7 separate regions of the Homo sapiens genome follow, and regions 2, 3, 4, 5, 6 and 7 are each linked to region 1. The links are contacts of gene promoters, found by promoter capture Hi-C in blood cells and fetal thymus (Javierre and others, 2016). All regions are on one chromosome and are shown on one strand. The core of a region is centred on a gene start or on the middle of the fragment in contact, and the rest is flanking DNA. Distances in the headings are between cores, read along the strand shown. Region 1 holds the start of CCDC82 (coiled-coil domain containing 82). Region 2 overlaps LNCRNA-IUR (lncRNA imatinib upregulated). Region 3 overlaps SESN3 (sestrin 3). Region 4 overlaps ENDOD1 (endonuclease domain containing 1). Region 5 has its middle 10 kb from the start of SESN3. Region 6 has its middle 10 kb from the start of LNCRNA-IUR. Region 7 overlaps SESN3 (sestrin 3).

Region 1 (4,369 bases), core at 1,870-4,369:
GATGAATAAATAATAAACCTATACTATTACCAAATTCATAATAAAAAGATCAACTTACCAAATTAAAATCAGCCTATTTATTCCCTTTGTATAAATAACCTAAAGTTCCCCAGGTTTTTATTTCCCAGTTTCCTACAAATGAATTGATCAGAATGCCTCTTTATAGATCAGCTTTCCCATAGTTTCTCTCTCATTTGGCAATAACTTCCCATATTTACTTCATTTCCAGAATAATCTCCCCCTCTTGCAACCCACACAAATGTAAGAGAATGAAGGCATAATTTCTATAATTCATAATTATTTCCCCATTATTGAATTTCATTTTTGAATTATTATAAATCATCCTGAAATCTAATAATATAAATCTTTCTCATCCTATCAGTCTATTAAAATATACAAAACATCATTTAAGATGGTTAACACAAGAAAAGATAACTATGGCAGCCTTCATAAATCAAGCAAAAGATTTCAGAAAAGTGCTTCAGTCTGTTCAGTTATCTCTAACTTTCACTAGAAAATTAAGGGAATGCCACTGTTACAGAAGGTATAATTGCAGATTCTAAAAAGTGAATACATGTGTACATGTAATTTATATCTATTCAGTATCATCTTCTGATTATCTGTACAAATAAAAGGACAAAAGACACAGATGATGAAAACACATAATCCTCAAACCACTTCAGATACATTTTGTGCCTGTATTTCACAGGACCAAGTCTGAGAATTCAGAACACAAAGAAAATTAAGCCATATTGCAAAGAGTTTGTCACAAACACAATGAGCAGAACAATAAAATTGAAATGACATTATTGACTTGACTTTGTCATCTTCTGTTTATTTCTGATGGTGGCTCGAAGTTTACGTATTACCAGTCTATCAGGTAGAATCATATCACCTTGTTGTTCTAGATAATCCAATAAATTTTCAGTCCACTGGAGGGCAGCTGCATGATTAATATGTTTCTCTGGAATTAGTTCTATTTCCTCCTCCTCATTTTCACTGGATTCATCTGCCTGGCCTTGTGCTCTTCTGATGATTTCGCTATCAGTTAACACTTCATAGCCTGGTTCAGTACTGTCTACTTCAAGCCATTTTTCAAGGTTCTCAGTAGTCACATTTTCCAATCCTTTGGTGTGTTGTAAAATGGCAGCCACAGTAGCCACAGAAATATCTTCAACATCAAAGTCCAGGCTCTCTTTCTCCTCTACCATAGGGAGAATCTTCTTCCATGCTCTGCTAATGGTAACTGGTTTTACTAAGTTCCATGCCATTGCTATTTCATAAAGTGCATCCAACAGAGTTAGCTTCTTCCAGAATGATTTCAGGTCATTACCTTCTTCCAAGTTGTTCTGGAGAAGACCTGCACGATAATTTCTCTTCATCGTTGCTATGACTCCCTGATCTGAAGGCTGAATCAATGAGGCCACATTAGGTGGTAAATATTTAGCAAATATTTGGCCATCATCTGACCTTAGGACATTTTCATTTGGATGTGTTGGTGAATTATCCAACAAGAGCACAGCCTTTTCCTGCAAGCCTTTAGATCTTAAATACTCTCGAACTTGCGGCACAAAAATTTTATCAAACCATTGTCGGAAAATGGAAAGATCCATCCATGCACCTTTTTGGCTGAAATAAGAGACTGGCAGGTTTAAGGTGTCAGTTGATTTAAAGGAGCGAGGTTTCTTTGCTTTCCCCACAACACAAAGTTTAAGTTTGTGTAAACCTGTTGCATTGGCACAACACATGATTGTGACTCTTTCTTCAATTGATTTGTGCCCAGGGACAGTGCATTTACCTTTGATTACTGAAATCCTAGAAGGCAAGCACTTCCAAAAGAGTCCAGTTTCATCTGCATTGTAGATTTGTTCAGGCTGTAAATTCTCTCGTTCAATAAAATCTCGAAAGTTATTACAAAAATCTTCCACCGCAGTCTCATCTCCATTTAATCTTTCATTTCTAATGTTAATCTCTCTAATGCTGTGCCGCTGCTTAAAACGAGTTAGCCAACCGGCAGAGGGGTTAAAATCACCATCCATTCCCAAAGCATAAAAGAAGAACTCTGCCCTTTTTGCACAAATTGGTCCAGATATGGGATTCCCTTTTGCTCTTTGCTGGTTGAACCATTCCAGCATTGCCCTGTCCAATTCCTCATACATGGATGGCTTCATAGATTTCCTCTTGGCCAAAAGACTTGTGGAATCAGAACTGCTTGCATAAGTTATAATCTTTTCCTTATTTTTTCTTATATCCCGAACTGTTGTTTCACCAATTCCATAAATCACTGCCAGTTGTTTGGAAGAACCTCCGTCTTCAAGTTTCTTTATTATATCAAGCTTATCTTTAATAGTCAACACCACACGCTTCCGTTTCCCTGACATAGCGAGGTTCTGGGACTCACCCCACACTCACAATGTAGCAATCCACAAAATCCTTCCTTCTCTTACACAGGCTCACTTCAACAGTCTTAACACACTCAGTCTTTCATCCTTACCAGCAACCTGGTGGCCCTGATCCCCTCCCGGGCTGGGGTTGGCTGGCAAATAGACTGCAGAAGAAGGTGAAAGAGGAGGAAGTTTGAGAGAACAGGCCTTTCTTTAACTTATACGGGCAGTAGCGGAGGCCCCATGTCACCGCGGATAATCCGGATTAAAAGCATGTGTTTTATTACCCCAGCAGCCGTGAGAAAGACTATACCCCCATTGTGGCCACGAACCTCCTGCACGTCCAGATCCCGGGTAACCGCGCGTCACTAACCCCTGCCACACCCCAAAGTTACGACAGAGAGCCGAAGAGCCTAGGAGTCAAGGACTGGCACCCTTCCTCAGGGGAACGGATATATTAGATTCCTTCCCCAGCAGCAGGGCCCTCCCGCCGCGCAGCCCCAGTTTCCCGCGCCAGCTTTAGCCGGGACAGTCCTCCCAGTCCCTCAAAACCCGCCAGGCCCCTCTCCCCACCTCTCTTGCAACCAGGACCCGCACAGCTCCCTGACTATCGCGCGGCAGTCGCTCCGCCCCTAGCCACGCTCCCGGAAGATGATCCCTCCCGCCGCCTGGCCCCACCCCTCGCCCCACCCAGAGGCGGGACTTCCCTTGGTCCCCGGAAGGGGGGGAGGAGCATCGCTTGTCCTGAGCTGGTTGCCGGGGCAGGGGCGGAGGCGGAGGCAGAGGTGGAGGCGCTTTGAAAGGTGAGAGCGCGAGGGCGGTGCGGGGCTGTCTCCCGGCTGGGACTCGCTCGCGCTCCCGGTGCTAATGGTTTATGAGAGGGGCGGGGGAAGCCGTGCCTCCTCGCGGACTAAGAGAAAAATTCCCGCGGGCGCTCTTTGGGTGGGCCGGAGAACGCCCCTCAGCCCTTTGCGCCTCTAACCCTCCTCAGCTGAGCTGCAGTGGGCGCGGTGCCCGTTATTTCCGCCTTGGGGAGGTGCTTGGAACTGATGTAGGGAGCTCGGTTGGTGATTTCTCGGGTTTCTGGCCTTTCCAGACCCTTGTAATTGTTTTCTCGGTGCAGAGCTCTTTTGGGGTCTGGGGGTTTCCGTCGTCCTGCGCGCGTCATCGCGAAGCTTGGCCTGAGGGTCCGGTTTCCTAGCTACTGTGCCCCTCCCTCCTGGAGGCAGAGTGACGGACTAGTGGGCTAGCGGGCGCTGGGTTCCTGCGTCCCGCCAAAGAGGTTTGTAATCATGAAAGTCACCCTTCCGGGTGTTAATTCCTGAGAGGATCTATTCCACTGTCTACCACTCATTCCTGCTGCATTAACCTTCATTGTTAACGGATTTTAATGAATAATATAGTTATCCCGGATACCATGCTGGCAGGATCCACTTTGCGAAATTGTGGACTGTTGGACTGTGATTCTAAGTGGGGGAAATAGGCTTTCCTCTCTTTATGTTTATTTTCTTATATCCTATTTCTGTCATGTTCTGTCTTGTTTTCCTGCCAATAGAAGAACTATGATAAATTTATTCATAGCAGTGTGATAAGAACTTGATCTTAATCATACACTGTAGCCCTCAAATCGTGTATTATGCTGGCTTGTTTTTGGTGTCCCTAGTAATTTCATCAGATTGTGAGCTCCTTGGGAGCAGAGACCATGTTTATTTGAAATGGTGGCAGCACAGTTCCTAGCAGGTGCTTGCATTTTGGTAGATATTCAATAATTATTTTTCGGCTTATTAATCTTTGCTCTCCAAACTGCCATATAAAAGAAAACATCGAAGAGGAGTGATGTTTTACACCCAAGAATGGATCCCTCCTGGTAGAATTTCAAATAATGACCTGGGGTTCCACTGCCTTTCAAATCTGTAAAGTGTTAACTACCACCTGCATTGTTTATACAGCAAGTAGGTGATTTCTAGAATGAATCTTTTCTTGAG
Region 2 (3,848 bases), core at 265-2,764, 1.2 Mb after region 1:
GTCAGGGGAGTGAGAAGGTGGATAGTAAGCAAGAAAACCACGAAATTATAAAACTACAAATTGTAGTCAGCATTATAAAGGGAAAGACAGAGAATAAGAATGAATTGTGGGCTGGGCACAGTGGCTCATGCCTGTAATCCCAGCACTTTGGGAGGCCGAGGTGGGTGGATCACCTGAGGTCAGGAGTTTGAGACCAGCCTGACCAACATGGTGAAACCCTGTCTCTACTAAAAATACAAAAATTAGCCAGGCGTGGTGGTGCATACCTGTAATCCAAGCTACACAGGAGGCTGAGGCAGGAGAATCTCTGGAACCTGGGAGGTGGAGGTTGCAATGAGCCAAGATTGCACCACTGTACTCCAGCCTGGGTGACAGAACAAGACTGTCTAAAAAAAAAAAAAATGAATTGTGGGGCAGGGAAGAGTTCTTTGTGGATCTGCATTAGGATGCTTATGAGTGGCAGCTGTCCCCAGGGAAGTGTTTGGAGAAAGGAAATTGCCTGGCACCTGTGGTCTGCTTTCCCACTGTAGCCCTGTTCTTCTCTCCCCAGTTACTTCCCAGGAGGTGCCTGGAACCTAAAGAATAAGTGTCCTTGAGCAGTGAGTGTCTCTGAAAAGAAGGGAGTGAGGAACTTCAGAATGGACACACAACAAAAAAGCCCAGCTGACCATTAATGGGTTGGAAAGATGCTATCACAGGGCCTGGTCCCATTGGAAGATGTTTGGGCTTTTCGCCAAGGCCTGATGACCTCCACCACCTGATCTGAGACTGCCCCTATAACAGCAAAGCCCTTGATCAAAGCAAAATGACCCAGAGAGTTTCAGGTATCCCACAGCTCTGCCAAGCAGATTTCAAAGAAATGCGAACTGAGGTTATCATGAGGATTTTGTGCTAAAGGAACCAGGGTATCAGGTGGCCATGCCTTCTCAGGGCCTGAGCCTTGGGGATACCACGCAAGTTCCCTAACCAAGCTATCTGAAATACACTCCAGCCTAAGGGTATATTTATTCACCCAAGGTCCGTGTCAGATTCCTTTATTAGATTCTTTTATTTCTCTAGAAATAAACAGTGAAGTATAATTCATATACAATCCCATTTAACAAGGCAAATGGAAAGTGCTGTTTTAAAGCAGCAGCCATAGGCATTGTGAGAAAGCACAAAGTCAAGGTTCGGGGCGTAGGCTGTGGAGTCAGACACACCTAGGCTCAACTTCCAGCTCTGCCCCCTACTGGTTCAGTGATGTTGAGACGGAGTCTTGCTTTGTCGCCCAGGGAGGAGTGCAGTGGCGCCATCTCTGCTCACTGCAACATCTGCCTCCCGAGTTCAAGCGATTCTCATGCCTCAGCCTCCCAAGTAGCTGGGATTACAGGCGCCCACCACCACATCTGGCTAATTTTTGTATTTTTAGTAAAGACAGGTTTTTGCCATGTTGTCCAGGCTGGTCTCGAACTCCTGACCTCAAGTGATCCGCCAGCCTCTGCCTCCCAAAGTGCTGGGATTACAGGCGTCAGCCACCACACCCAGCAAATTACATAATCTTTAATGCCTTCCTTCTTCATCTTTATGGGGATAATAGAGTTATATGAATGAATTAATGACACGGAGTTTAAAGCCTTTCTCAGTCTAGCCTGAACTCACCTTTCCAGACTCAGCCTGTGATTTTACTCCCTTCCCCCAAGCCACATGAGAGTCCCAGGCTGCAGCCACACTGGCCTTTCTGCTACTGCTTCCAGCCATCACCTTCTCTCTGCCCCGACCACGCTTCCCACTGCCTGGGTTCCCTCACACCACCCTCGTCTACTGAACTCCCACTCATCTTTCAGAGTGCAAAGCAAATGTCACCTCCTCTTTGAAGCATCCCCTGCCTCACCTAAGCAGTCAGCTGCACCTTGCTCTCTATGCCCATATACTTCCTCTACATCTTCTCAACGATAGTAATAAACACTCAAAGTGCTAAGCACTGAGCTTAAGTACTTTAACTATTTTAACTCACTAAATCCCCACAGGAACCATATAACACAGATTTTATCACTAACCCCATTTTTAGGATGCAAAACATAATGCACAGAGAAGCTAAGTAACTTGCCCAATGCCACACAGCCCACAGCAGAGCCAGGAAACAAGCCAAGCCCTGTGATGACAGAGCTGGTGCTTCTAACCACAGTGCTACACTGTGTACTCCTTATCCACAGGGTGCGAAGTCCACTTCCCCCAACAGGTGGGAGGGCCAGGGATTGCATTTTCTTCATTTCTGCATCCTCAGATCCTAGCACAGTACCTGGCACATAAGCACTTGCAACTTTCTTCCTCTCACACACCAAAACTAGACTATTTAAGGAAAACCAATAATTCAGTAACACTCACCCATGTGTTCTGGTCTCTTCTTTTTGGCTATAATTTCTGATTAAAAAATACTGCTCTGTAGTCCTGGCCAAGGGGCCTCATATAGTCTCTTTGAAGTTGATGAATAACAATGAACTTCTTCTAGTTCATTCAATTAAAAAAGAGAAGCCATCTTTTCCCATGAAGAAGTTTGAGGCCTAAGGGTAAAATAGAGACATGGATCTGTCACGACACCTTTTCCCACTGAAATGAAGAGAATCTGTTTATAAAGAAAAAAAAGAGTAAAAACAGAATTCAAAAGGCAACCAGGCTTCCAGAAGGGCCCTCCCTGGCCCAGCAGCTCCTGGAGGCAGTTGTGGAATCTAGAGTTGGAGGAAGTCTTGAAGAGAGAGCTCTTTGAAGGCACAGCTGGCTACAAACCAGTCCCGGAGCCGGCAGCCCAGCCCGGCTCAGCACATCTCAGCCAGAACATAGCTAGGCAGGCCAAGGAATCCTAAGAAGGGGATGATATTTTTAAAATCTTTGGCGTTAGCAAAACTGAAGGTTGCCTGGCCAGTGCTTGTCTCTTTCTTTTTCCCAGCTCAGTGTCTAATTTGTGTATTTCCAGGATTCCGAACCTTTCCCCAGCAGATCAGGTCTAAGTGCAAACGGTCCCTAAGTCACCCATGTTCCTTAGGCTTTTTCCCTCCTTAGAAACAAAAGGTGGACCTTTGCCAAGATTAAATGGCATTCCATTCAAAGCTCCAAGTCTGGCTCAGTTCAACATGCTCATGAGGAGGACTTTGAAAGTGCTATGGATAATTTTCTAACAAGGCACAACTACCCAGCAGGACTGAGACCAAAAAAAGAACCATCTTTTAAATGTAAGTTCTTATCAGCTCTGGAAAAAAAAAAAATAGACGTTATTTAAGCCAAAGCTTAAATTTGGGCTAAAGCCTCAGACTTGAAAAATGCTTGAAGCCAGAATTGGGAGGTGACAGGGGTGTACCAAGGAAGGGTGGGGGTGGGGGAAGCACTGGTTTGTGATTTTACTTCCAGTCTGCGGTCATTGAGTTCATGAGTTTGTACACTCTTGGACCTGTCAGTAAGAAAGTATATATTGAGCATGGATGTTATAGCAAAGCTCAATATACCATTTGGAATCGTATGAGACAGGGTTGTTACCCTTGAGTACTTCACCATCTCACTAAGGAGAGAGGGAACAAAAATAAGCAAAGATCTTTTTAGGGGACTTGGCATATGGTAAGGGCCTCTCAAAGTCACTTCCTGTATTCCCTTTCGGGTGTTGGAGAGAAAAATGATGTGACCGCTAAACGTGTCCCTGGGACAGAGAGGAGCCAAAATTGACCATGGAAAGGGAAAGATCACTGTGGACTTGAGTGGCCTGTGAGACTGGCATGGTAAGAAGACGGCTATGGGTTAGGGAGGCCATCCATGATGAGCTGGTGGAGGAGAGATGGGAGGGCCCATGGTGGAGAGTGGTGAGAGTGAAGGGCAGAAAGGCC
Region 3 (3,849 bases), core at 1,048-3,547, 1.2 Mb after region 1:
GATTGAACTATATGAGCCTCATTTTTATAGTCAAAATTGTTAAGTAATAGCAACTTTATATGGTTTAGCCAATAAAATGTATTTGCTCTATCTGTGGACCACTAGTTACATTATGCCTTGGTTAATCAGTTTTCTTGTGTTACATATTTTTGATTGTCAAAGGCAGTTTTTAACTTGATTATCTTAAATATCCTAAGCAGAGATCAAGTAGTTAATTAGTGATGGCAAACCTTTATGCAATGGTTTTCAAACTGCTTCGTATGGACCCTTAAGATTCTTTGGGGTTTTAAAATGCTTGAGTTGCATTAAATTTTTAAGTATGTTTTAACTTATTTTAAAACTGTAATTTAAAAATATGGGTACCCCCAAATATGTACACATAATTTTAATAACTGGAGTCTAACACCATTATCTTTCATTACAAAATTATTCTTGTGCAGGTCTTGAATTACAATTTGTTCTGCTATCTTTGTACAGATATTTGAATTTTTTTTTGTTACTGTGTCATGTATGAGAAAGATTGTCATTGATTGTGAAGGAACTGGCTTTTTAAAAAGAATTCCTTCCATATTTACTTAAGTTAAATGTTTACTTGTGAGAACACAAATTTATTGTTATCAGTAGTTGTAACTTTATTACTAAAATACTTGAAAGTTGCTTGGTATATTTATATGCTTTATAGTTCAGGTTCAATAGAAGATTTAATTTGTAAAAAGTGTTCTGCTGCTTCCCCCAACTCCCCACCCTAAATAAATAGAAAACATAACTACTAATGTAGTGATACTGGAAGCCACAGATGTGGTTGCAGTTAGGTCTTTAACAGATCTTTTGATTTCAAAGCAGAGTTTTCTCTGTAAAATGTTGATAATTTTTACTTGCCTTACAGATTGCTGTATAGTTGGAGAGAGATAGATGTGTGTTAATGAACTTTATAAACCGTGTAAGAAAGAAAAGGACAAGTCCATATATTTTTCCATTTTCCCAGACTATGTTAGTTCTTTCCGTCTTATGGGAATATATTTCAATACATACTGAGTAATTTGGTTAATACTCACTTTTCTGTCCTGTTTAATTATTGCCTGTAAATGAGAGGTAAAGATTATGCTTTTAGTCAGAATGACTTTTTTTTTTTTTTTTACTTATTTTTGATTTCCATATTTCTGTCTGTATTCCCTGCCCCTTTCCCACCCCTGCACTTAAATAGCAAGGCATTGACTTTTGATTCTCGAATAATTAAATTGCCTCCTTGACACTTCAGCAAATAAGGGGAATTGGTATTTAGTTTGAAAAGACTAAGAGTTAAGGAAAATTGTGCTTAATAAAAGGGGGGGTGGTAAATCTAGGGTAAAGCAAAAATTTTTAATTAGTTTAGGAGAAGAGATGGAAGTAAAAGTCTTTTAACCTTTTCTCCCCATCTCTTCAGCCTTTTCATTTTCTTCCTTTGAAATATTTGGATTATAATAACTTAAGTGTGTATTGACCTTCACAGTTTTTAGGGTGCTTTCACATTATTTCAGTTGATTCTCACAAACTGAGAAGATTTAAGTGGCCTGGTCTCAGTCATACAACTAATAACAAAGAAATCCATTTAATTCTTAATACTGCCTTTGTAATAAGCTGTTTCTAATTGTCCTCTGCAATATTGAGGCTGCTAGGGAATATCCCTACTCCCAGCTTCACCATCTGTGGAATGCCCAAAGATACCGAAGATTCTCCAGGTAATATTGGTTGGAAACATGAAAGTTAGCCATACTTTAAATACTATTGTAGATTAACTGAAGGAGTAGGAGAAGAGTAAGCTGGTCACTTTTATCTCTCTAACAGTTGTTTGGCTAATTCCTTAATAAGATAAAGCAGCAGTTCTCAAAGTATGGTCCTTGGATCCCTGTGGGTCCAAAACCCTTTCAAAAGGCCTGAGAGGTCAAAACTGTGTTCATAATTATACAAAGACTTTATTTGCCTTCTTCACTGAGAGCAAAAGCAGTGGGGGTAAAACTATGCTAGCCCCTTAGTATTAATCAGGTTAGTGGCACCAAACCGTTATCACTGTGTTCTTTACCACTGCACATTGAACAATGGGGAAAAAATTTCAATATCACTGAATGTCCTTGAAGAAGCAGTGAAAATTTAAATTTTGTTAAAGCTTGACCTTTTTGTGTGCATCTTTTTAATACCCCGTATGACAAAATGGAATGCGTATAAAGTGCATCCATTGCATAGCAAACTGGTTGGCTCAAGGAGAAAACTTGTGCAGTTGTTTTAGTTGCAAGCTGAACTAGCCACTTTTTTCATGTAACCCCATTTTTACTTGAAATAACACCTGTCAGACAAACTTTGGTTACTCAGACCTGGGCATTTGATAAACATTATCTTATAAATGAGTAGTATGACCCTGAAAATTCAAGGAAACTAATTGACACTATTTGCTGCCAGTGATAAAATTCAAGCTTTCAGGGAAAAATTAGAATTTTTGAAAATATGTATCTGTCACCAGTAGCCTTAAAGCTTCCTGGTTCTTAAAGGCTGTCCCCTTGAGATCAAGTATGATATTAGTGGATGTAACTTTTTGATAATCTGCAATAAAATTTGTCAGTATTTGAAAGATTTACATAACTCATTGAGCCAATATTTTTCAATTGACCAACAGAGAAAGACATTATTAATTGGGGTCTTTCTTTCCTTTTCAGCCAAGAGCAGCCAATTAGAGCATAATGGACAAGGTAATCTTTGGATCTGACCATTCTTTTTATCACTGACAATGATTGTTGTCAGTTGTTTTCCTCTAGTTTTCAGGATCATTTTGCTTATTTTTGAGGAAATGTTTATCAGAATCATATATGGGTAAAATCCATTTAAACCGCAAAATGTACAAGTGGATTTTAATATGATATAAACTGTTGAGGTCATGGATATGATTTCAGATACATTGCAATTAACCTTTAAGAAGAATACTTGTTGAGTTTTAGTGTGGTATCAAAGAAAAATATTCACACTTATCTTCTTTTTCCAACTATGTAGCTATGTCAGGTTCGATTTTTCACGCATAGTTCAATCAAAACACATCACAACAGATTGGGGAAAATTCAGCTGTCTTGTATTAAATAGACATTAAAGAGATTTGCAAAATGTAAATGTCACTCTTCTCACTTTTTATGTTTTGGAAAATACAATTATTCCAAAAAATATGTGATTTATATTATTTTGTAATAGATTTTATTACTATTTTAAATGAATTAAACATTTCAGAGTTTTCTCGGGTTTAATTTCTAATACAGTAAATATGGGCAGTTATAACCCACACATAAACAAAGGCTCTTTGGGGTCCCCAATAATTTTTAAGAGTGCGAAGGGGTTCCAGGACCAAGACATTTATGAAGGGGTTCCAGGACCAAGACATTTACGAACTACTGAGCCAGAGTTACTACTGATGCCAGTATATGGTGTAATTCTATGGGGAAAATAAAAAGCTTAATACCACTGACAGAAAATATTGATAAAGTCAACTCAGTTACCTCTGTTTGGTGTGTGTATCACTTGCAGATGCTGTCTACCACCTTTTCAGTGACATCCTAGAAGCTTCTCTATTACCACAGTAACTGGCTAACTAGAAATGATCTTTCCCTAATTTTCATGAGCATCTTTTTTCTGATATAAACCAGGGAGGGAAAAAAACAAAGTTCCTTCACTTTGAAGGAATATTCTCCTTTAGTACTGTGCAACAGCTGAAGAAAGGTCAAATCCAAAAATTATGTCCATTATACCAAATTGATTGGTTCTTGGCTACAAGGGAAAGAAGGACCCTGAGTAGCAAGGTTAGTCTGTTTGGCTTGAAAGCTGAGAAGTGTGGGG
Region 4 (4,146 bases), core at 1-2,500, 1.3 Mb after region 1:
AAAAAAAAAGCTTTCTTGACTAACAGTAATTCTAGAAGATAGACCAGATAACTGAAAACAAATGCTACTGGCAAATAAGAGGATTTACTTTCTAAAATTTTCACTTTCAGAGATGAGAGTTTAAAAGGAAGAGAAATTTTATGCCCAAAGAATAAAATCTCAATTCCCTAAGGAAAGCTCCATTCAATCACCATGAATCACCAGTAACGGAGCTAAAAGAAATCTGAAGCTGGCATTTACATACAGAATGGTATGTTAGTAGTGAAACCATAAACCATCCAAAGAACTGGATTAAAAATAAAATAACAAGTCTAGTCAGCCAGTTTGGATTCTGGAGAGAAAAAACTAACATTTTAGTTAGAAAATAGTGTGATAGAGAATAAAGAGAGTTAAGAGCTTTGGATTTGGGCAGTCATAAACTCCTGTCCAGGTTTTGCCATCTAGAAGCTGTTTGACCTTGGATAAGTTACTTAACTACTCCGAACCTCAGTTTCCTAAACTATAAAACACAAGTCATAATACCTAGAGTTGTTATAGAGATGAGATGAGTTAGAATGTGAAGACCTTTGACATGGTAAGGGATCAATAAATGATAGTTCCTTGCCTAGATTGTCCAGATATAAGTCTAAACTGAAAGAATAGTATAGGGAATTGTCACCACTGGACTGCTTCAGGACAGATGTCCCTGAAATATTCTGCCAACGCAGGTAAATACCTTAACTTGATCCTGAGAATGGCCTGCAAAACAAAAGGAAACACTAAATCCAAAGATGAAGAAAAAGCCAGAAGGGAAAAATTCAACAAAGGTTGGAACCATCCCCTGGGTCAGGCACTTCCCAGTCTTATCCAGTCTCAGCACAATAGACTGGAATGCCATTGCTCACTGTTTTCTGACAACACACTTCTTGGTTTTCCAGGACAGAGAGGGTGGAGATGTCTTTGGTACCTGTTTGGTTTGTTTTTGCTTTTAATCACTCAAATCCACCCTCCATCCATTCATTCAATCTTCCACACATTTCATCTCTCATCATGCATTTATGAAGCAGCTACTGTATGAATGTGGGACATACACCAAGCATTTGAGAAGATACATGGATAGATATTTTACTTTTTAGGAGAGATTTGCAGAATTGTAGATGTCACCTATCTAATCCAACATTCCATTTGTGTGTGTGTGTGTGTGTGTGTGTGTGCGTGCACACGCCTAGCACCTACTGAAGTAACACCTTATATACATATTAATATTTACTAAGAGTTTACCATATTCCAGGTACCATGCCACATGCTCTCATGTGTTATCTTGTTTATTTGTCACAACCTCTCTATAAACACTTTTACAACCTTTAATGAACAGATCCAAAAAATGGGGCTGGAAGTCACATAGCTTGTAAATGGAAGAGCAGGGATCTGAATTAAGTCTCTTAATTAAGGAGTAAGAATCAGGATTGTCCTGTTCACTGCATTCCTTACACAGAGATTTAAGTGTATGATGCTCTATATATCTGTTCTCTGACACAATGAAAAGAAGGCTGAGGTTGGAACAAATTGAACAGTATTTCTGTTTCAGGTTGTATAAGCCATGGATGGAAATTAAAAATCAAGGACTTAATCAAGGTTCTAACTTGAAACAACCATTTGCATTTACTAAGATCTGAAGTAAGACCTCACTGTGCCCTCCAGGAAAATGTTTTTGCAGTTAACCAGAATATCCCCTTCATTCCAGAGTAAAGTGACACTTGAGCAACCTTTATGCAGCCAAGTAAGTGCTCCCACTTGTCCTATGACTGTCAGAAAATAGAAGTGGAGTAGAAATTAGAATTCTCACATAAAAGATGAAAATTAGAGTCCTAAGACCATTAGCGCAGTGGATCCATTGTGAGATCAAAGAATCTCCACAGTGTATCAGAAGAGTAATCAGTAATGAGTTCAAAAATAAGCTGTGTGACCCTAAAACACCTCAGTTAACCTCCCTTAGCCAGTTTCCTCCTTTCTACAATGAAGATAATATCTACCTCACAGTATTTTTTAAGATTGAACAAATATACACTATTGTTACTGAATATATAAATTATATATTATATAATTAATATGTATAATATATTAATTATATAATTTATATATTCAGTTCCTTCCATGTTTATAAAATGATAGAGCTTTATATGTTGGCTTCTGGCATAAATCAGCAATGCACTTTAGAAAGGTATCATTGGCATCTTATCTAAAAATTCTTCCATTAAGTGGAAAGGAGTCAACAAACTAAAAGGTTTGAGGCTTCCTGCACTAAACCAGAATCCAGTTCTCAGGTTTCTGGAGTCTTGACTAGAACTCCTCCAAACCATCTCCTGTAGGCAGAGCAGAGATCAAAATCATTTGGGATAGTTTCAAAGGCCAAAGCTAAGACTGATGGAGTGGCTGCAGAGCAGGGTTCCAGCTCTGCATAGGGAGCATGTTTGTAACAGTTGCTGCTGGCCAGCCCTGGTGCAAGCTTCTGAAACAGGAAGCGCCCCACTGAGAAAACTGAAGCAGAACATCTCACCTGCTCCTGCCTGATTGATCCTCCCAACATCAAATTATTTTATTCAACACTTATCGCGTGCTTTCTATAAGCTGGGCACTAGGAAAAGAATGAGTAAGATGCAATCATCATTCCTCAAGGGCTCAAGTTGGGGAGACAGATACATAAGCAGATAATTACAAAACAACATGGTAAGTATGAAAATAGAAAAACTATAAGAGCACTGAAGGGGTGAACCTAACTTGGGAGGTGGATACAGTTCAGGTGGGGAATTCTTTCTGGAGGAGGTGACACCTCAGCAGAGTCTTAAAGGATGGAGTAAGGGCAGGAAGTGAAGGATAAGATGGGGTCTGTGTAGAAAGGGAATTTGGGCAAAGGGAATCAGCATGAGCTAAGAAACAGACATCACAAACAGTCTGGTTTATGAGAGGAACTCCAGGCAGCTGGATAATGCTAGAACATAAAATATGAGGGTGGAGCATGGTGAGAAACTAGATTGGAGCTGGAGACAGGAGCTAGGCTATGGAGAGCCTGTAAACTGCATTCTGCAGTGTGAACTTTGTCCTGTAGGGGCTGGGCAGGCAACACTTTACAGATTTTCAGCACAAGAGTGACTAAGTTTCTGTGATCTTTGACTTAGGAGATTCTTTTCAAAGGGAAACTGCAGTGTGGACTCAAAAGCTGCCGAACTGGGCTTTGGGAATTCAGTGTCACTGCTGCCCTGCCTGACTCATCACTGGAGGCAAGCACTGAGTTCCTTTGGTCTCCTGCCTCTTCCTCCCCTGTGTGCGGGTCCTCTTGGTAACACTGACCTCATAAAAAGGTGATGTGGGTACAAGGAGACTCAGCATTATAAAATGCTTGGAAGCCGCCAAGGGTACACATTGAGCCCTGAGCATCTTTCTGCAGTGGGGATCTTGGCTGGGAGGCAGGGCCTCAGGGAGCAGGCAACAGTGGGGGCAGGTTTGCTGCAGTGCACTCCAGGCCCAGCTGCACCTCACACCTCCTCCTCCCTCCCTCTCTCCCAATACTCTCTGGATCCTGGCTGACTTGACTTGAGGTCGAGCGGGTGGATGTGGGAGGCCAGCCACCTTGCAGGGAAAAGCATCCTGCAGTGCTCAGCCACAGTGACCATTCTGACCTCTCAGCACAGCAGGAACTCAGGCCCCTTGTACTCTTCAGAACCGCTGTACATCTTACCTCTCAAGCTGCCATTTGTAACTATTTCCACCCTCCCTTCCCATCTTCTTTAATCTCCACAGTCCCCTTCCTCATTATCTCACCCAGGGTCTCCATGTTACCTGGTTCCCTGTACTTCTTTCTGTCAAACTATGCTCCTTTACGACTCACTCCTTCCCTAGCTGCATAAATGGCTCTGCCTCCCTAAGCCTTCCTTGGTGGCTCCTCCCCACCTGATCCCTCCCTTCCATGATTCCTTTTTATTCTGAGCAATTGAGTGCATTCATCTATTTGTATTAGTTTACCTGTTCCAACTTCTTCACGCACAAATCCCTGAATCTGCCATGCCTTTCTCACTCATGATGTTTGTTCCCTCTGCTTGAAATGTCCTCCTCCTTGCCTCCCTTCTAAACTCTGCCTTATCTTTCCACACACAGCAGAAATGTCATCCT
Region 5 (3,959 bases), core at 491-2,990, 1.1 Mb after region 1:
GTAATGAAAAATGAAGTTTGAGGAGTTTTTGAACAGTGACTAGATTATACAATATTGAGGTTAAAAAAAATGGAAAATTTTCAATTTCACCCTTATAGAAGTCTTAGGCAATACATTTTAGGTCACAGCTAAAGTTACACTTGCATAATGAGAATGTTTCCATTTGCTTCCATTCCTGGACACTCTAGTTCCCCATAGACATGTGGAATGTCTAGATGTTCATGTCTTCACTGAGAAATAGAAAATGCAAAGTGACAGGTCTGGTATATACAGAAATAACAGTAGTGCTATCTCATCAAGAGCAAGGCCAGCACAACCACAACCCATCTAGTACTGCCCAGGGAGGCCATTTTATTTTCTTCACCATACCTGAAAAGTGGCAGAGCGAAGTACCTCGTTTATTTTCCAAATGTTTAATGAAACCTAAGAACTATTTCACATGTCAGATAGAAAATGAGTTCAAGGGTTGCTGAGCTCAGCATGAGTCCAGGATAAACTAGGGGAGGAGAGAGCGAGAGAGAGAGAGAGAGAGAGAGAGACAGAGAGAGATTTAGAAAGGAAAGGAAGGAGCAGTGCCTTCCGCAGAGACTGAGGAATACGATGCAAAGGAATGGAAAACCACAACAGTCCAGCTCTACTGTGATTAGCTGAGGCTCTTCTAAAGCCAGCGATTGGCCCTAAAGAAATGTATCAGTTAGTTGTCCAGGGACATTCTACCTCTGGCAAGTTGAGTAAAATTAAAACATTTACACATATTTACATTTCTAAAACTAAATGACTTCCTAGTATACACCTGGTCCCCTTTATAACCACCCCACAGAGGCCACCACAGTGATCTTTAATTTGTATCCTGAGACAAAGTGCCCTCATTCCCTTTGTTTTTGTCCTGACTACTTCCTTCTTGAAAACTTTTGAGGAAATTTAACTTTGATTTTTGTTTTTATTGCTTTGTTTTTCTTTTTCGTTCATAAACTCTGGGAAATCATTAAACCGGACCTGCAGGCATTAAGTCTGAATGAAGGATAATGTGTGGAAAAGGAGAAAGCCTTTGTCTCTCAGTTTTCTGTGTAGGCAGTTGATAGCACACACATATTAGAATCACTCTAACATGAAACCTGGAAAGGAGAAGCACTTTGGGTAATAGATTACTGATTGCCGTTCTCTAACTTGGAACAAAAAAAACGTTCTAAAAAGTTTGAGGGTTTTGCACAGCAGACATTCTTAGTGAAACATAGACTGTAAGAATTTTTCTGTGTAAAAACTGAAATGGGGGTTTTCTGGCCGAGTGAGTTCTAGTTCTTTCTTTTGGAATGTCCTGACTTTCACATCCATTTACTAATGAGAACTAAGGGTAATATTTCATATGTATAAGTGCTTGACGTGGAAATGAAGGAAGATTATTTCCGTCAGTCTCTTTTGGATGAAAGAAACAGAATTAAGTTACTTCACAAAATCAGCAGTGGGAGGAGATTAGATCGGTGAAGGAAATTATTACAGAGATACACAAGGACTGGAAGTGGAAACACACCAGGATTTAAGGAACTCTAAATACCAGTGTCTTAGCTTCTTTGCTTTCTTTCTGTGCCTTGCCCCCTCCTCCTACCCCTCCCAGCTTCCTCACCCTTTACTTCCTATCCGTTCTGTTCCTTCTTCGTTTTAGTTTGCATATGGTTCATGACATCCTCTTACAATCTGACTTTGCTGCCAACTGGCTTAGTATCATAGTTTCCTGATGCCAAATCTCCAAGAAAGGAATCTGATTGGCTCAGATTATCATTTTGAGCTAGTCCATACAGATGGATGGCTAGGTTACGGAATGACTGTCTTTGAGTCAAGCGTCTATTCCTCGGTTGACTCACATAGTACAGAGCATAATTATTTAGAATAAGGCCACCAGCAGAAAGATTTACTTAGAGGAGGCTGTGGATAAGACAGGTTGATATGAACATCTTGAATTTGCTGGCAGGTTATGTGGAAACCAGTTTATTCATCTTATTTCTAGAGAATCTAATCCCAGCTTATTGCAATAGACCTGTACTTGTCTTGATATAGCATGTGAAAGTACCAACAGCACCTCCTTCCTCTACCCTTAATTGTTAATTTTATCAACTTTATCTTCATCATGTCCATCACTTTATCTCCGTGACTAGCCAAGTGCCTAGGAATCTTCAGACTTATATCTCAGAACATTTGGAATTTTGACTTGGGTGCCAACAAAGGTAGTTTTCTTATCCAAAGATCACCCAAATATTTTTCACGTAATATGCCAGTGGGTAATAAAATACTAGAATAGAGAATAATGGGTATGTGTTTGCCTATTCTCATAGCATTTATTTCAATAGGTGTCCAGTGAGCTATATTTGGTAAATGTATGAGAGATTTAATCTAGTGGACCTTATTGTTTGGTAACCTAACACAGATAATTAGTTCAAAGAATATTTATAAAAATGACTAACTGAATAATGCCAAAGCATGATTTTATAACACTGTAAATCCTGGTGGCATCAAGCAGATCTGGGTTCAAATCAGAGCTCTACCTTGTGTGACCTTGACCAAATTTTCAGTCCCTATAAATCACATTTAAATAGAGATAATAATAGCTACTTCATAGACGTTTTATAAGTATTAGGCAAAATAATTTATGTAGGTTATTGAATAATTATTGGCACATACTAAGTACTCAGAAAATGATAGTGGTTGCTTCTATTACCATATCTATGATGATTATCATCACTACCATGAAGGTTACGGGGATTACAGAATATGGATTAGAAATATGATGGTTATCTTCAAGTACTTTACTGTCTTAAGACAGATAATATCGATGTACTTGTTAGAAATTGTGCACACATATCACTTGCACATATACAAATGGAAATCAACAGGGTGGGGGCTAAGTGTGAAATGCTAAATGTTAGATAATAAAGTGATATTATTTAATTCGGAAAAATAGATTAAAATTTTGGTGAATTTTTAATAGGGATAGTGCCCCTCAGAAAAGAAAGGAAGATTTGCACCCCTCATGGAAGTTTGCCTACTGCAATGTAAAAAGCCAGGATACATAGGAGTTTTGCAATTGGAGCATGAACTATATTAAAATGGGGAACTGAAACACTGGGAAAGGACCTACTAAGGGGAGTCTCTGGGAGTTGCTGTTGGAAACCAGGAGGCAGACCACTTCTTGGGTTAACATTTCACTTCCTCGGGGAAGGCCTAGACCAGGGGAGACATAGACCAGGTTTGATCACCCTGCTTTGTGTTCCCTTCCTGTGTTTTTCCCTACTATAACACTCATTACACACTGGGATTATTTGTTTAAAGTCCATCTTCTCTGCTAGGTTATAAATTCTAACTCTTATGTTCATCACTCTATCTCCACGACTAGTCAAGTGGCTGGCACATAGTAAGCACTCCACAAACATGGAGTGCTTGAACGCATGAATGAGTGAATTAATGAACATGGAATTAGGAGGTGATTTCATCATACACTGTTTTGTATTGTTCTCTGGTATTTATAGGGGTTAATCCTGTCTTCCTGTTGACATTGTACATTGCATCGAAACACAGCAAGAGTTCTGTATCATATGTCTTCAACACTACCACTGAGATGTATCCAGTTATAGGCATAAATGCTCAAAAGATCTTTCTGGACTCTGCTGATAACCCTTTTTACATTCTATTCTCCATTTTCTATTCATCTTCTGTAACAATGCAGAGATTATACTTCAGTCTCACTATTAGATTATAAGCCTGTCCTTTGTTACTTTTATCACCAGGACTTACTACTTGGTAAGGGTTCAATAAATAAATGACTAAATAAAGGATTATCTGGACAGCATATATTTCAAAGCATAATTTTCCAATTTTGCAGCCTTCCAGAATCTCAAAAGTTGCTGCTGTGATTCCAAGTTTGCAATTCATGTGAGAATGCATCATCTCAAGACATTTCATCTTTGAAA
Region 6 (4,373 bases), core at 1,609-4,108, 1.3 Mb after region 1:
TAGCTGGTACTAAATGAATCATTCTCCAGGGCCACATTGCTCTGGGAATGTAGAAGAAAAGAAGCTAGAAGGCAAGGACACTTGAAAGACTGATCAAACAGAGGGACAACTTGATCACGAGTTCCTCAAGGATGGGTTCCTCATCTGACTCAATCTCATCTCCACTGACCAACGTACTGGAAGATCAATGGATGGTTTCTGGGAAGTTGGTTAAACAGACCGAGGATGACGGGAGCAAAGAGAGCTGCAGGAGGCAGTTCAGGCTGCCAGTAGACCCAGAGTCCTTGATCCTTCTCAAAGGAACATTGGACATTAACCAGGATCAGCCTGAGCAAGAGAGAGTGCAGGTTTCCTGTCTGTACCATTTTGCTGTCAAACTGGCAGGGCTATGAGACTCCCTGGGCATGCCCCTTAGAGGGGATCCAGCTCCAGCAGCTTGTGATCAGCATTGCTCGATCTTTGTTTTCCTGAAAGAGACTCTCCACAGTCCTATGAAATCAAACCTCTCAAATGGGGGCTGGAATTACTCAGGGAAGCCAGGAGTTGAGCACTGAAATGGTATTTCAGGCCAGGGAGTGCAACAGATAAGACACCCCCATTCTACAACCTCACCTCTAGTCAGAGTGGCTGAATGCATTTATAAATCTGAATTCTTTCTTAAAGATAAGTTTTTTTGTAGCAACTTCGCATTTTCCCTTCTCAAAATGAGAACTCATATTTTGAAACCCTTTGCCCATGAAATTATTTTTCTGACAATAAAAATACATATAAAGAAAGGATGTCACATGGGAAAGATTGCATTCCTAATCTGCCTTTCTATAAACTCATTCTCTTCAAAAAGATAAACTGTGACTTTATATAACAACAACACAATGGTGAAAGCATTCTTCTTAGGCATTTTTGTGAGCTCTATGTATATATTAAGGACATTAGTTCTTTGTCTACCATATTATTTGCTTATCAGTCTTCTAACCTCCCCAGCCACAGTATGTAGGCATTTGGTACAAGCACTGTAGTAGCAGGTACATGACTATGTTTTTGGTCTACTCTTTGTGCCTAATATACAGGCTGGTGGGCATGAAGGTTCAACAAATGAATATTAACCACAAACTCTACAAGGCAGATCACCCTAGGTTCTGCAACCTACCTGATAACCCTACTCTTATTTCACTAGGTTTGTTTTTAGAAGCTAAGGAAAAACATCTGCATGGAAAACTCAATCATAAACACCCTCTGTCATATTCAGATAGCACAGAAAATTCTAGAACAAAGCACCTGTCTCCTAGCAGAGCTTTGCCTGCTTTGAGATTGAGAATACCTGCAAAAAGCACCTAAGTCATTTATTAAAATACTGAGCTGAGAGTCATTCCCTTGTAGGAGAAGGCTCATTTGGTTATTGCTGTGGGTTCTGGAGCAGGACTTTGGTATGTCAAGACCCAAGTCCAGTTACTGGCTGTGTGACTCTGGACAAGGTAGTTAACCTCTCTAAGCCTCAGTGCCCTCCTCTGTAAGCTCAGAAAAAAATAGATGTACAATTTATTACAGTGTCTAGACCTAAGTGTACAATTCTTTGTAGATATCCTTATCATCATGATTATGATATTACTCAAGTCATGGAAACAGCAAGTCCAGTTTCTGGAGACTGCAATGATGTCATTCCTCACACCCACTCAGACTCCAGGAGGCTCATCCAGTTTCCCACCAAGTGAGTCTATGCCTTTACTGCTCCCTTCTATAAAACACTAGGATAATCATGGTACATAATAATGCCTTTGTGTTTATAGGGCATGATCACATTCATTTTCTCATTTGATCCCCACAATAACCCTGTTATGGTAAACAAGGAAGATTATGTTATCTCTATTTTAGAAGTGAGGAAATAAAGGGAAAACGAGCTTAAGTGACTAGCTTAACTTACTAAGAAGTGGAGTAGAATTTGTAACAAGATCTTTCTCGCTGTGTCTCAGGGTGGAGTAGAAAGACCATTTACCAAAAGGGGCAGCCCCCTATTGGTCAAGTTTTGCTGCCATCACTGGGACCACCAGAGTGGGGAGCATTTCTCCTCCACATTTCAGGATTCGGGATCTGCAGTTTGCTGCCTTTAAGCAGCTGATGTCAGTGTCTTATCCTGCCCAAGGTATACCGACAGGTGTTATTAGGAGATGTCTGCCTGGAGCAAGTCACACTATTTCTACACATACACACTGACATCTTTATATAGTTTACATATCATTGACATGCTCACCAGAGGAAGCTTTGAAGGGAAAATGGAGTCTCAAGAGGGCATTAAGCCAGCTGGAGTAGATGGATAGATGGCAGGGATGGAGGGGGCTCATGCTCTGTGAAAGGCCAAGTAGCTCCATCTTCTAGAGGCCAGGTCTGAGCCTTGAACACTGAGGTGATTGACTGGAGCACTTTGCATGCATGAGCAGCAGCTCTTGTGTGGGTGATCCCCTTTTGCTCTAGTTAAAAAGTGCGGGAGGTTTCTCCCAAACTACCTGGCCCAGGGCAGTTATAATGATCTAAAATCACAGAACCAACCCTGGCTGTACAATAGAATCATAGGTGATGTTTTTAATATTTACAGATGCCAAGGCCCCACCTAAACCAATTAAATCAGAATCTTTGTGACTGAGAGCTAGGCATCAGTATTGTTGTTTACAGTTGTATTGAGGTATAATTGATATACAATAAACTGCACATATTTAACAATCAATTTGATGCACAGTGACATAAATATACATCCTGACTCTTCACTATAATCAAGATAATGAACATATACAATATCTCATAAAGTTTCCTCATGCCCTTTGTAATCTTTCCCCTACTTCCCCATCCCATCACCAAGAAAACAGATCTGCTTTTTGTCACTATAGATTAATTTACATTTCTAGAATTTTTTACAAATGGAATCATATCATATGTTGTCTTTCGTCTGGCTTCTTTAACTCAGCATAATTTTTTTGAGATTTACCCATGTGGTTATATATGTCAGTTCCTTTTTATTGGTAAATAGCATTCATTTATGGTTATACCATAGTTTATTCAACTGATGCTGGACATTTGGTTTTTTTTTTCCCGGTTGTGGACTGTTACAAATAAAGTTGCTCCGAACATGCACATTGCATGGTATGTCTTTGTATTGATGTATGTTGTCTTTTCTCTTGGATCAATACCTAGGAGTGGAAAGCCTGAATCATATGGTGGACGTAAGTTTATCATTTTAAGATACTTCTAAACAGCTTTCCAAAGTGGTTGTGCCACTTTACATTTCCACTAATATTAAATGAGAGCTCCGTTGCTGCACATCCTCGCCATCCTTGCATGGGTCTACTTTATACTATATAGTGAGTACAGTTGATCTCATTGTGATTTTAAGTTGAATTTCTGTAATGACTAATGGGGTTGAGCATCTTTTCATGTACTTTTTGCTATTTGTATATCTTCTTTATTGAAGCTTATTTTAAAACCACTAGAGATGGGACCCTAACATTAGTTAAAAAAATCAATAAAACCTCCCCGGCAATTCTAACGTGCAATCAGGATTAAGCATCATTGTCTCACTAGAAAACTGAGTGCAAACCTCTCATTTTAATCACACGGAAACTGGGAGATTAAGGTTATTTGTATAGCAAGAAAAATTTCAAGACAGTAAAATCACTCCTAAAATAGTTGTGGACATTACAGAGCGAGTTCTCCACTGCAGACCTAACTATATTATTTGCATAAGTCAGACAAGTTTTACTATTGTCTCTGGTAAGACTTAGTGATATAATTAACTGAATTATTTGTTCCAATCTGATCATTTATCATTTTACTTAGTCACGAGTACTTGTTCTACAATAAATTTTGAAGGAAGTGCATTATTTCAACTAACTTTGTGACAGTATTATGACTATGGTGAAATGGAAGGGAAAATAGCCTCAGGGCTTCCACATATAGTATTGACTACACAACCCTAGAGGGCTCCCTTCACATAGCAGATATGAAACCTCTGCATAACTTACAACCGTGTGCAGGGGACTGAACAGCCTTCATCTCTAAAATCTAGGTTCTGGGTCTCACCTTCTAATTGTGTGACCATAGGAAAGTCAGTTGAATCTCTGAATCTTGGTTTAAAATAAAATGGGAATAATCAGTGTTCACAGAATAGATGTGAATGACGTGAGATCACATCGGGGATCAGCAAACCCAAAAGGCTACAGGAGCCAGGTAAGTAAGTTAAATGAGCAAAGTGGATCAGGTCAGAGAGGCAATAGAGACACCATGGAGACTATGACAAACTGTAGGATGCTGGCCCTGTCTACTCAGCTGTAGCTTGTTATGGCCTTGAGGAAATGCTGGCCATAGCTTCTGTTTTTAAGAGAAACCAA
Region 7 (4,385 bases), core at 631-3,130, 1.2 Mb after region 1:
CCTTAACACTAGATTGTTCATTATTGTCCTTAGATTTTGAGGATGACATGATTATAACATCTGATGTCTCTCGATATATTGAAGACCCTGGTTTTGGGTATGAAGACTTTGCCAGACGAGGAGAAGAGCATTTGCCAACATTCCGAGCTCAGGTATAATATGTCTTTAATTCAGAGAAACTAGAACATACTGTCATTTTAACTGTTAAGTGTTTAAATTTTAAAAATTGGCACTAAACAATTTTTGATAGAATCTATAAATCTTTGTATTTAACCTAGTTTCAGCCTAATCTAATTGGAGTTCCCAATAGATGGATAATTATTTCAACATTTTTCTCCCTAAGAAGACAAAAGGAAACAGTCTGCTTTATTCACTTACTTCTATTATTACGTGGTATTTGCATAATGTTTATACCATTTTTTTGAGGGGGAACAGAGAGGAAAACAAGTGACATCACTTTTTCTTGGAATAAAATCATATACCAGTAGTCATGGGCTTAAGGGCTACTCTAATATTCACCCCTAGGAAATAGCCACAGCAGTGATATGACTCCTAAAGAGGGTATAAGATTGAATTATGACAAACTCATTCATGGTTATTTTAGATGATCTGCTAACTGTCCATGTCACTGGGTAGGTTTGTTCACATGGGAATATTCCAAGATCTCCTGGGGCCCTTCCAGATAAAAGGATAGTGTGCGTAGTACCTGAGTGTAGGAGATGACCAGAGTTCATCACTAACATGGCAAATCCCATACCCCATGAAGAAACATCCAGACACTCTGATCTACTAACTGATGTGAAGGGTTATTGGTAAAGCCTTAGTAAAGCTGAAAACCTAGAGCTAAATTAGAAATAGCCTCGCTTACTTGCTTCATTAGTTATATTTAATAATACATAGAATTTAGATGGAAAATGCCCACTTTGTAATTAAATACATTTTATTCTTTTAGGACTATACCTGGGAAAATCATGGGTTCTCCCTGGTGAACAGACTTTATTCTGACATTGGACATCTTCTTGATGAAAAGTTTCGGATGGTCTACAATCTCACATATAACACTATGGCCACCCATGAGGATGTTGACACAACCATGCTGCGCAGAGCTTTATTTAACTATGTTCACTGTATGTTTGGAATCAGGTATGTTCATTGTAGAGACAGTTTTTTACATTTCTAAGTGAAAATTCAAGCATGAGTCTTATTTTTGTCCTGTTTGGGAGTATATGACTCTGGGAAGAAAATATTACATGTAGACTTCTGATTTTAAAAATTAATTTCATTTTATGGAGAAGCATTTTTCTTTAAGTGTTATGAATCTTAACATTGATGCACATGTAAATATAGTGGTAAAAATTTACTGAGGGAAAAAAGCATCAGTAATGATTGGGGATAGGATAGAATTAGACCAAATTTGAGAATCCTTCCTGGAAGAACAGGTGAGTTTTAAAAAAACAGGTGTAGTGTCCCTTTAGATCACTATAATAAATTCTGGTTTGTTTAGTTAGTTTGGTCTTTTTAAAACTTATTTTTTAAGGAATGGTAATTACGGTATAAACAAAACTGTACTAGGTTGTGCCTTCATAAGCTTACATAAGGTCACATAACACTGAAATTAAATATATCAGCCAATATAAATTAATGACCTCTAAATTTAGAAAATTAGCATTGAGAGGACAGTAAGTACATGAGATTGAATAGTCTAATCAAGAAAGCACTTTTTGGAGAATGTGCCTTTTTGAGTTGTGGTTTTGAGGCTTTTATGGAAATAGATTAGCAGACAGAAAAACTTTCCAGTTACAAATTATTCAACTTGACTATATAGATATATATCAGACAGACTTTATGATAATTAGAATTTAATCGGTTAAGCAAAGTATTTTCTATAATTTTAGCTGAAGAACCCCAAAATTTACTGATAAATCGCCTAATAACACGATATTCCATGTAATAGATTATGGTTGTATGTAATAACTGAGCTATTTGTCCATTTACCATGCTAGACAATGTTATCAAAGAATCAATACATTTTAAAACACATATATATCATATCTACCTACTTAAGAAAAATAAACACCGATAAAACTCAATTTAAATGCAATAAATATGTATTGGATACAAGGCAACAAATGTGGTGAATATATCTGTTGGATGCTACAAAATAAAGCTTACATAAATGCATCAAGATACTCTTTTTATTAAACTAAGCATTATATGGGTTAAAAATTAACTGAAAATGTAACAGAGAAATTCCACAAGTTCCCAATACTACATTTACCTACCTGTCTACATCTGTGCCCATTTACTCTGCTGTCATTACTGTCTATGTTCCTATACACTTATGCACAAAATCCCATTTCTCATTTTCTAAAGATCTCAGTTCTAGCAATGCTCCCTTCTCTCTCCAGCATAATCAGCTTTACTCCCATTTTGGATCTTTCCCATCAGCATTGAAACACACTTAATTTCTCCCATCTTTAAAGAAAATTTCAGTTTCACCTTTCATTTCCATCTGGCTACTGCCTCATTTTCTGCTTTCGTGCGAAGCAAATCTCTGACAAAATTGTGTATATTTACTGTCACTATTTTCTTATCTCCCATTCTCTCTTGAACCTATTCACAGTATCAGGCTTTTGTCCCTATCAACCAACAAAACTGCTCTTACCGAGGTTGCTAGTGACCTCCATATAGCTACTTCCAGTGGTCAGTTCCCAGTTATCTTATTTGACTATTTGGCAGCATGGGACTCAGTGATTACTTGCTCTTCCCTGAAACACTTGACTCCTACCTCAAGTCCTTTACACTTGCTTCTTTACCACCATCTGGTATTTGTTCAAATATCAAGGCTTTCAGAGAAGCCTTCCTGCCCACCCTATTTAAAATAACAACTCCTCTCCTCCCAGACCAAGTTCCATTTCCTCTCCATGGCAGTTATCACCATCTGACTACAATGTGTTTATCTTTTTAATTTTTCTTCGTTTTTTCTTCAACAAAATTTAAGCTCCATGAGACCAAGGATTTTTGTCTGTTTTGTTCACTAGTATATCACTACTACTGAGTACTCATGGCACATAATGGGTACTCAGTAAACATTTGTTGATTCAATTAATTAACGAGCTTTTAGTATTTAATTACTAGACAATAAATGTCCTTAGTATAACTTTGGAAACTAAATATTTTGATTTTGTCATTATAAAGCTATTGTTGTATTGCTCGTAGGTATGATGACTATGATTATGGAGAAGTTAATCAATTACTTGAAAGAAGCCTGAAGGTTTACATTAAGACAGTGACCTGCTATCCTGAGAGAACTACAAAACGCATGTATGATAGTTACTGGCGGCAGTTCAAACACTCAGAAAAAGTACGTGTTTCAGTATTAAGCATTATACCATAGACAGTTCTTCAGTACAAGAAGTAATAGTTATGAAAAATGACACATGAAAGTATTAATAAATTATAGCCATTGACATGGAAGTGGCATCATCTAGCTATCTGGGGTTTTTTTGCTTGTTTGTTTGCCAGGCTGGAATGCAGTGGCACGATCTCAGCTCACTGCAACCTCCACTTCCCGGGTTCAAGTGATTCTTCTGCCTCACCCTCCCGAGTAGCTGAGATTACAGGTGCCTGCCACCACGCCTGGCTAATTTTTGTATTTTTAGTAGAGGTGGGGTTTCACCATGTTAGTCAGACTGGTCTCAAACTCCTGACCTCAGGTGATCTGCCCACCTCGGCTTCCCAAAGTGCTGGGATTACAGGCAGGAGCCACTGTGCCCAGCAGAAACCGTTGTCTTAATAGGTTAACTTTAGTGGTTAAAGAATCTCGAAATGGATGTGCCTTCTGGGCCAAAATACAATTATACCTAATACAACATTTCAGTATGTCTGATTTTTATTAATAGTTAGAACTGTAGACAGTTTTCCAAATGTGCTTTGAAGATATCAGTACTCAGATCTAGTATTTCTAAGGCTTACGATAAACTTTTATATGCTATATTGAACAAAGCATATAACCAAAATTGGGTTACTAGTCAATAAATCTGAATTAAAAAAATATTTTAAAAACCCAGATAGTGGCTGGGTGCAGTGGCTCCCGCCTGTAATCCTAGCACTTTGGGAGGCCGAGGTGGGGGGATCACCTGAGGTCAGGAGTTCAAAACTAGCCAGGCCAACATGTAGTGAAACCCCATTTCTACTAAAAAATACAAAAATTAGCTGGGCATGGTTGTGCATGCCTGTTGTCCCAGCTACTTGGGAATCTGAGGCAGGAGAATCGCTTGAACCCAGGAGGCAGAGGTTGCAGTGAGCCGAGATCACTCCACTGCACTCCAGCCTGGGCAACAGAGCAAGACTTCATCTCTCGAAAAAAAGACAATAGATTTTTA

What was found. Contacts are between HindIII fragments. The CHiCAGO score rates a contact against its expected background, and 5 or more counts as called.
Region 2: a fragment that was not itself captured here is called in contact with the fragment with the promoter of CCDC82 in region 1 in 4 of 17 cell types (erythroblasts, fetal thymus, non-activated CD4 T cells and 1 more); the score reaches 9.2 in erythroblasts.
Region 3: a contact is called between a fragment that was not itself captured here and the fragment with the promoter of CCDC82 in region 1, in 1 of 17 cell types (fetal thymus). The highest score is 5.3, in fetal thymus.
Region 4: a fragment that was not itself captured here is called in contact with the fragment with the promoter of CCDC82 in region 1 in 6 of 17 cell types (total B cells, naive B cells, monocytes and 3 more); the score reaches 12.4 in total B cells.
Region 5: a fragment that was not itself captured here is called in contact with the fragment with the promoter of CCDC82 in region 1 in 2 of 17 cell types (neutrophils and fetal thymus); the score reaches 7.2 in neutrophils.
Region 6: a fragment that was not itself captured here is called in contact with the fragment with the promoter of CCDC82 in region 1 in 3 of 17 cell types (naive B cells, total B cells and erythroblasts); the score reaches 8.0 in naive B cells.
Region 7: a fragment that was not itself captured here is called in contact with the fragment with the promoter of CCDC82 in region 1 in 1 of 17 cell types (erythroblasts); the score reaches 5.8 in erythroblasts.

The regions. Positions count from the first base shown.
Region 1 is chr11:96,388,662-96,393,030 of GRCh38, reverse strand. It overlaps CCDC82 (coiled-coil domain containing 82), which reads left to right and starts at 3,119. Exons shown (of 10, transcript NM_024725.4): 1 at 3,119-3,187. It overlaps JRKL (JRK like), which reads right to left and starts at 3,018. Exons shown (of 2, transcript NM_001261833.2): 1 at 2,958-3,018; 2 at 1-2,548. The coding sequence starts at 2,381. The coding sequence ends at 807. RefSeq lists a silencer at 2,946-3,205. The HindIII fragment of the contact is 1,223 bases long and covers 2,339-3,561 here.
Region 2 is chr11:95,156,320-95,160,167 of GRCh38, reverse strand. LNCRNA-IUR (lncRNA imatinib upregulated) reads right to left here. Exons shown (of 3, transcript NR_110303.1): 2 at 2,365-2,540; 3 at 1,020-1,559. Among named protein-coding and RNA genes, the nearest start is that of LNCRNA-IUR, 7.7 kb to the right of the region's middle. The HindIII fragment of the contact is 3,496 bases long and covers 1-3,262 here.
Region 3 is chr11:95,223,323-95,227,171 of GRCh38, reverse strand. All of the region lies in intron 1 of SESN3 (sestrin 3), which reads left to right. Among named protein-coding and RNA genes, the nearest start is that of SESN3, 6.0 kb to the left of the region's middle. The HindIII fragment of the contact is 304 bases long and covers 2,146-2,449 here.
Region 4 is chr11:95,092,091-95,096,236 of GRCh38, reverse strand. All of the region lies in intron 1 of ENDOD1 (endonuclease domain containing 1), which reads right to left. Among named protein-coding and RNA genes, the nearest start is that of ENDOD1, 4.3 kb to the right of the region's middle. RefSeq lists a silencer at 3,018-3,312 and an enhancer at 3,018-3,312. The HindIII fragment of the contact is 2,475 bases long and covers 13-2,487 here.
Region 5 is chr11:95,239,615-95,243,573 of GRCh38, reverse strand. No RefSeq gene overlaps it. Among named protein-coding and RNA genes, the nearest start is that of SESN3, 10 kb to the right of the region's middle. The HindIII fragment of the contact is 8,404 bases long and covers 1-3,959 here.
Region 6 is chr11:95,138,185-95,142,557 of GRCh38, reverse strand. No RefSeq gene overlaps it. Among named protein-coding and RNA genes, the nearest start is that of LNCRNA-IUR, 10 kb to the left of the region's middle. The HindIII fragment of the contact is 1,203 bases long and covers 2,257-3,459 here.
Region 7 is chr11:95,174,477-95,178,861 of GRCh38, reverse strand. SESN3 (sestrin 3) reads left to right here. Exons shown (of 10, transcript NM_144665.4): 7 at 34-152; 8 at 953-1,143; 9 at 3,220-3,364. Among named protein-coding and RNA genes, the nearest start is that of LNCRNA-IUR, 26 kb to the right of the region's middle. The HindIII fragment of the contact is 579 bases long and covers 1,591-2,169 here.